2 separate regions of the Homo sapiens genome follow, and region 2 is linked to region 1. The links are contacts of gene promoters, found by promoter capture Hi-C in blood cells and fetal thymus (Javierre and others, 2016). All regions are on one chromosome and are shown on one strand. The core of a region is centred on a gene start or on the middle of the fragment in contact, and the rest is flanking DNA. Distances in the headings are between cores, read along the strand shown.

Region 1 (3,906 bases), core at 886-3,385:
ACCTCCGCCTTCTGGGTTCAGGTGATTCTCCTGCCTCAGGCCTCCCAAGTAGCTGGGATTATAGGTGCCTGCCACCACGCCCAGCTAGTTTTTGTATTTTCAGTAGAGACGGGGTTCATCGTGTTGGCCAGGTTGATCCCGAACTCCTGACCTCAGGTGATCCACCCACCTCGGCCTCCCAAAGTGCAGGGATTACAGGGGTAAGCCACCACGCCCAGCCAAGGATGGCACTTTCACAGACACAATATCTATGTTATTACTACTATAAGGGAGCATGTGGAGTCACCTTATTAAGGGACTGAGTCCTACATCAGTGGCTCTGCTTGCCTCATAAAATTATTCATTAATTTTTAGCAGTGGCCTTGGGAAGTTGTGTACATAATATTTAGAGGAAAATGGCATTTACAATGATAATGAATTAAAGCAATTCACACGGCAGTACCACTGCCCCAATTTAAACCTTGAGGCTTGCTAATTTCATATTTAGCTGCATCCCATATGCTCCCAATCCCTCTGCCCTAGTGTGGAGCTACAGCTCAAACTCCTTTGAAGGTAGGAAACTTACCTCACACACGCGTGTTCCCCTCATTCTTTCAGCGCATAGAACACTAAAAAGATGCTCCTTAAATACATGCTAAATAAACTGATCAATAGTTGCCTTTTATTAAATATCTTTGTGTTTCAGGTATTTCCTTATTTCCTTCACAGACCGGATCATGAATGATCTCCCAATGTGACAAGGTCTTATTCTCCACAGTTTACCGTTGAGGGGACTGAGGTGCAGAAAGCCCAAGGTGTATGCAGCCCAATCCCCTCTGATCCCACTCTACTGCATTGCTGCCTTTTGTACGCAGCAGGAAGGACACTTCCTGTAAAAATGAAAAAAAAAGCCTTAAGTTGTTTGAGAGAGGGTCAGGAAGAAAACAGGAAGAGCCAGTAGACTGCAGGTGCTTTCAAAGGGCTCCCTGTCTTTGACATCCCTAAAATAAAAACTTGTTAATTAAGAGATTGGCCACAGAAATCCAGGTGGAAAACCTGCAGAAGAGTGGGTTCCACAATTCTTCAAAACAGAACAAAAAAACCCCAAGACTTGTTATATTTTTACCGGTGGAGGGGAAGAGGTTACAGGAGTGGCCTTGCTCCCCGGGCTGGCCTTGCTGAGCAGGTGACAATACCACACATATAAAGGTTTTAAGGTGAAAAGGTAGTCAATATTTTACATTTCGAAGATAGTTTTTAAAATCACCTACTGCATCAGTAGTAATACAACAATAACTACCATTTACATACCACCGCACACATCGGGGCTGCGTAAAGAACTTTATAGTGCACCATCTCAATTAATTCTCACAACTCTGTGAAGTAGGTTTTATTATTCTTAATTTATAGACGTGTTCACTGTGGGCCAGGGAGATGAGCTTTCCCGCGATTGCCCAGCTTTTAAGAGGTAGATCTCAAACCTAAACGTGTTTGACCAAAAGCCCTGAATAACATTTAGCCGTGGGCCTCTTGCGGATTTGGCGCTGGTCCGAGGTGGGGAATTGTGAATCTCATTTATTTATGCTGAGCTGCGCACACATATGCACGTGTAAGTTACAAAAAACAAATCCAGGTCAGGATCTCTGTCCGCTTGAGGTTTCAAAGCCTACTTGGGTAGACAGCGGTAAAAGTCTCAACTCATTCATCTACTCGTTTGCTCTCTTCACAAGTATTTATTGCGCACTTCAGTATTCCAGACAGGGCGCTAACCTTGCCCTGGAGGAGAGAATGGTGAACACAACAGACATGGCGTTTGCCTCCAACTATCCCCTTTCCGATTCTGCTATCTCACGGGCGAGGCGTTCAAAGAAGCAGGAAATATATCAACAAGGGGGTGACTTAAGCACCCGCTGCGCGGGAGCCGGAGGAAGCGCGCTGAGCCTGCAGAGGTGGTCAGGGCGAACTTCCTGGAGGCAGCGGCAGCAGCAGGCCGGGCGAGAACCCAGGTCGCTCGGAAGCGACAGTCTGAGCCGGGAACGGGGAAGAGGGGGCGGGAGCCGAGGCCCGGGCGGGGGCAGCCAGCGAGTTAGGGTTAGGACGGGAGGATTCGGCTTCCCGGCGGCAGAGGGCGCCTGGCGCTGCGGTCTGGCGCGCCAGAGTCGCCCGCGCGGGCGCCGAGAGGAGAGGCGAGGCGGGGAGCGCAAGCGGCGGCGGCCACTGCCACGTATTCCCGGCAGTGGTGGCGGCGGCGGCGGCGGCGCCCGCGGGCAGGTGGGCTGGGAGCGGCGCGGCGGCGGCGGCGGCGGGGCGGGCGAGCCGGCGGGCGGGCGCGGGGCACGGGGCACCGGGCACCGGGCGGGGGTGCGGCGCCGGGACAGTACGGTTCCCGCCACGCCGGCTCCGCCTCCGCGCAGTGCTGCTGACCCAGGCCTGGGCGCCCGGCGGGTCCCGAGCGCAACTCGTGCGGGCGGGGTTGGGGGCCCGAGGGACTCGAGCTCGCCTGCCCGTCGCGGCTCGAGACGCTGCATCCCGGTTGCTGCGGGGCGGGGGCTGGGAAAAGTTGGGGCGGACCGCGAGCCCGCGGGGCCGGGCGGGAAGTGCGGGTGCGGGGCGGACTCAGGGGCCGGGGGACGCAGTGCAAAGGGCTTGGGCCGGGGCGGCCGGGAGGGCCCCGTATGGGAAGGTGGGAAACGCGGGTCCTTTGAGGACGCCGAGAAAGGGGTGCGCTCAGGGTCTCTGGGAGTGGACAAGAGTCCGGCGGCGGACCTTGCGGGTGAGAAGGGTCGGCGCCTGGGGGTCGGGGAGTAGAGGTGAGGCGGGGGCGGGATAGAGCCTTCCTCCTCCCCCGTTCTTTCGGGACCGACCCTGAGACCCGGGGCAGGCTCCGAGCTGGGTACGCCTCTGGCATCTGAAGACCCAGTGGGGAGTTCCTGTACGGGGTGGGTGGAGGAGGGAGCTGAGCGTTGCTTCCTCTGCTGCTGGGGCCGACTACCGCCCCTCCCCAGCGGCCAGATTCACCTCAGACTGCAGTGCTTTTGCCCTGAGGAAGTTGAGGAGGGACAGCTGAGCGGATGAGATGTTTGGGGTGTTCCAAGATGAGTGGGATTAGGCTGCATGATATCATAACTATCTCCGGGAGCTGTCAGAAAACACTCCCATGTCCTCATACACCCACCCATCCACTCATCCAGTCAGTACTGCCAAGCTCCAGGCTCCCTTGCTCTTTAAGTGACACCTCTAGATCCCCAGAGCCCAACAGCGCATCTGCTCACAGCCTCGAGGGTGGCAAGGGTGGAAGACATGGCCTGCTAGTGTCTGCGTAGGTTGGTGCTTTCAGAAACAAGTGGTTCTGGAGGTGCTGGATGCTTTATTAGAACAACCTGTGTGGAGCCCGTTGACAATGCAGATGACTCATGTTGGCTTTTTTTTTTTCCCCTTTACAAATAAACTTTGTATTCAAGACACCAGTATGCCTGGTCATTTGCAGCAGTGATACGGCAAGAGACCCATAGTGGGCTTCTTGAGCCCTTATTCTCGTCCTAGATGTGTTAGCAAGAAGTTTGACCTTGGATGAGTCACTTGCTCTCTCTGGACTTCTGTTTTCTTATCTGTCACATGGGGTATAAAGAGAGAGCTCGACAGTGTGATGTAGACAGGAGTAGGTTTCTGAGGGACACAGTGAAATCTTTTTTCTTGTAAGGCTGGATCAGCCACAGAAAATAAGCCTTAGCCTGTTCTTATAAAGAAATTAGCTTAGATTTAAAATAAAATATGAGAAGAAATATTGCAAAAAGCAAAACAACAAAAAACTAATAGTAGTTGGTACTCGATTTACAACATGAATACTGTTCTTATGCTTGCAGTTAGTGTACTTGGTTGTCCAGCTATCTACTATAAAGTTGCTCATTGTGCTTAGAAAGTGTGTAT
Region 2 (3,906 bases), core at 783-3,282, 1.0 Mb before region 1:
TTTCAATGTGAGTGCTCATAAGAACATTTCCTTTGCCTGCCAGCCCAGTAAAGGATAGAGAACAAAATGTTTTCTTAGCAATCAAAACATGTTCTTTCCTTTGGTCCCCTACCAAATAAGTCTGACTTGCCGGCTCATAGTAGTATTGCTTGTACCAAGACGCACAGGACTCATAAACCAAAGATGAAGATGTGACCCCCCCAAGGCCCTTGTCGTCAAGGAATTTATTGCCTGTTCAGTGAGATGAATGAATGAATATCACTATTAATTTTACCAAGCACTTAAAAAACATTTTCTGCACCCATGAAAGTTATGCAAAATAGTTTGGATGATAAAATGATGACGAAGATAAATATTCTAGCACCCAAGTTAAGGGTGTAAAGACAGTATCGCACTGGCCTCTTCTACCTTATTAGGCGACACTGGAGACATCTACGTCTACAGTCACTTGAGAAATTTTTTACCTACGGGTTGAATTTGAATTTCTGGGTGTTCGCTTTGGTTTATGATATTCAACTTTTATTCAGGGGATTTCCAAATAGATCAGGGGCGGGGCTGCTGACCTAAGGAGAGGAGAAAGTTTTGAGAGAAGTTTTAGTAGATCACAGCTGTGCATCAGTGGAGTCCCACTGATACTAGGGGAGAAATAGACAGTGCTGGGAATGGGGCAATCCTGCCAGGTGTTTTTGATGTTATGCCTACAGAAAATAAATTTGCGTTAGCCATATGAATTTAAGAATGTTTTCATTAAAAATCAAGTATAGGCCAGGCGCGGTGGCTCACGCCTATACTCCCAGCACTTTGGGAGGCCGAGGCGGGCGGATCCCGAGGTCAGGAGATCGAGACCATCCTGGCTAACACGGTGAAACTCTGTCTCCACTAAAAATAAAAAAAAATTAGCCAGGCTTGGTGGCGGGCGCCTGTAGTCCCAGCTACTCGGGAAGCTGAGGCAGGAGAATGGCGTCAACCCAGGAGGCGGAGCTTGCAGTGAGCCCAGATCGCGCCACTGCACTCCAGCCTGGGCGACAAAGCGAGACTCCGTCTCGGAAAAAAAAAAAAAAAAATCAAGCATTGTGTGTAAAAGCTTCTATAAAAGTGGCTTCCGGGTGGCGCTCTCTGCAGGGCCACAGCCTCAGTTTGGAGACTAGATGGAGGATGTTAGGTGTTCTGGCTAGGCCCATCAACCTAGTAACATTTCCTCCTGCACAGTAAAACCTTTCATAATGCTTCTGGGGTTTTTTGTTTGTTTGAAAAACAGAAATTAGAAATCAAATATTTTATTTGAAATTAGACATTTCAGTGACTTTTTTCCACTCTTACTTTTAATTAAAAGAAAAAGCTATAAATGCACAAATTACTTGTTTAAACGAAATAAAGGAAAAAGTGTATTGGCTTCTCTTTTTATGCAATTCAAGAATCCAGCCATTTATTCACATTCTTCTCCCTCTTCAGTTAAATAAGACATCACAGATAGAGCCTAACATTGTGTCTGGCACGTGGCCGGTAGGCATTTGGGAAATATTACCCTGCTTGATTGCTTCCTTCCACCACTCCCGATTTTCTCTTAAGCCTCCGAATGTTCCAATTAAGCCATCTTTTTACCTGAAGAATGCCCGAGGTCTCATGCATATCAATTTTCTTTGTGCCCTCTTACCTCGGTAGGGTTGAGACCACAAACTGCCCCTACTATACCCTTATTTGATGTGGGAGGAGGGGATACTAGGTAGTAAGGTGTGTCTGGATGAATGGAAACCAGTCGTGACTTCGCAAATTGCTGGTTGAAGGTCATACGTGATCATTGTGCATCTCATACATGCACAAACATTCACAGGGGACTGGATTGTTCTTATTTTAAAAGAGCCATTGGTAGGGTAGAGGAGAAGGAAAGGGAGGAAAGGAGTTATGGGAAATTAATAAATTTACTCACTTGTTCATTTAACAAATTGGGAAACAAATGCAAAACACGGTTTCTACCTTCAAAAATCTACGAGAGAAACAGATAGTGGGGAGGGAAGGGATCATGGAAGGCTTTGAGGAGGTGGCTCCTGGAATAATTAGGAATCATTACAATGCAGAGGAAGAGGGCTGAGGTGTTAGTTGCCACAGAGGGAGCAGCACTGCAGAGGCCAGGGAGGGAAGACTGGGGCAGTAGGCGAGGAATTACTAGGGTATAGTTTGGCGAAGGAGATGGTGTTTATCCTGCAGGCTGTCGAGAAAGTCCTTGGAAGGCTTTAACAAAGGAAGGAAGCGATATTCATTTTTAAAATGAATTCTTATTTTTATTACGTATAAGGAGGGTGAGTATATGGATGGGGACACGGGGGGGCTGCGGAATGCTGACTGTTAATGTAGGCTCTGGTTAATGGGTGTGTTTGGTTATGGAAGTTCATCAAACTGTATGCTTACATATGTACTTTTATGGGTGGACATTATACTTTAGAAAAAAGTTTCTAAGAAAAAATCATTCTGTCATTAGTAAAGAGTGAGTTGGGTAAAAATAGGGTAAGAGTAGGGGTGTGGTGGTGTGCAGTTGGAAAGTTATTGCTGTAATTCAGATGTGAAATAAAGAGGGCCTGAACTGAGACAGTAGCTGTGAGGATGAGGAAGAAAATTAAAGGAGGATAGATTCAGAGAGATTTAGGAGGCTGGTTTCTTTCTCTGGGAAGCCTTTCTGGATACCCACAAACATATATCCAGGGTAGTTTACATGGCCCTCCTGTGCACTCTCACACATGCTGCACCTTTCAGAACATCATGGGACATCCAGAGATCATGACTGTTTCATTCATAATTCCATCCTGAACACCCACCACGGAACCAGGTTTCTAGTAGTGAATATTTGTTGAATGAATGTATGCCCTTAATGTATCACCGAAATTATCTGTTGGTATCTCTTTCCCCACTACAAAATGAGAAGACATCCGGAGATCTTGGCTATGTGAATGACTTGCTATGACCTTGAAATGTCCCTTAAGCTTTCAGTGGAAAATATTGTACATGTATTAAGCATAGTCCTGGCAACAGGCATCAGAAATGATATCAAATTAGACTGCTGTCATTGGCCAAACCTGGGATGAGTGCTCATTCTTGAAGCAATCACTGTGGTCAGGGAATGGGTACTCTCTTTAGACCCTCCTCTGGAGCTAGAATCAGTCCCATCTGAATAACAGATGTGGAATAATCTGTTATTCTTGAATAACAGTGCGGGGAGAGAAGTTACCCAAAAGAAAAAATGAGGTGGTGTTACCTGAAAAAGAGGGAAAGGATGCTAGGTGGGCAAAAACATGTCTGCTACCCATGTGGAAGGAGATATTACTATTCTTACAATGAAGAGGCTGGACTAAATGAACTCTGAATCATCTTAGATTTCGAACATGGAAGAATAGTCCATGATTCTTTTACATTTGGTAACAAATGATTCTTTGTGCATTTAAAGGCCTCTCAGTTTCCACAAAATATTGCACAGAAAGAACTAGCTTTCAGTTGCCAGCATGAAGATGAGATGGGCATGGAGAAGGGTCTTTGGACCCTGAGGGTTGCAAAAGTAGTGTAGAAGAGAGCTCCATAATTCAAGACTTAATTTATGACACTGAATGAGCAATGAACTCACAACATGCCAAAAGTGACCTATTCGGTTCCAAAATTTTATATTGGACAGAATTCTTTGGGAGCAAGAACCAGGCCAACTGTGGTTCCTAAAATTCGAACTCATTCCTTATTCTTTCTCAAGGATATAGTTCATTTGATAATAAGACCATCCTAGTTCATTTTAAAGGCTCTCCCAGTGTTACTCACCAGAGACAGATTTGATATTTCCTATGGAAGCCCCAGAATAGGTTCTGACTGCCTAGCTTTCTAGGCGGAGCCAAGCTCTGTCAGCATAAACTCCCTGAGATTCAGGCTACC

The links. The method cuts DNA at HindIII sites, captures the fragments that hold promoters and counts their contacts. A CHiCAGO score of 5 or more calls a contact.
Region 2: a fragment that was not itself captured here is called in contact with the fragment with the promoter of SMCO4 in region 1 in 2 of 17 cell types (monocytes and M0 macrophages); the score reaches 5.9 in monocytes.

The regions. Positions count from the first base shown.
Region 1 is chr11:93,541,620-93,545,525 of GRCh38, reverse strand. It overlaps SMCO4 (single-pass membrane protein with coiled-coil domains 4), which reads left to right and starts at 2,135. Exons shown (of 3, transcript NM_020179.3): 1 at 2,135-2,250. RefSeq lists silencers at 1,935-2,064, 2,225-2,274, 2,405-2,644. The HindIII fragment of the contact is 4,665 bases long and covers 1-3,906 here.
Region 2 is chr11:94,539,784-94,543,689 of GRCh38, reverse strand. No RefSeq gene overlaps it. Among named protein-coding and RNA genes, the nearest start is that of FUT4, 2.2 kb to the left of the region's middle. The HindIII fragment of the contact is 1,891 bases long and covers 1,087-2,977 here.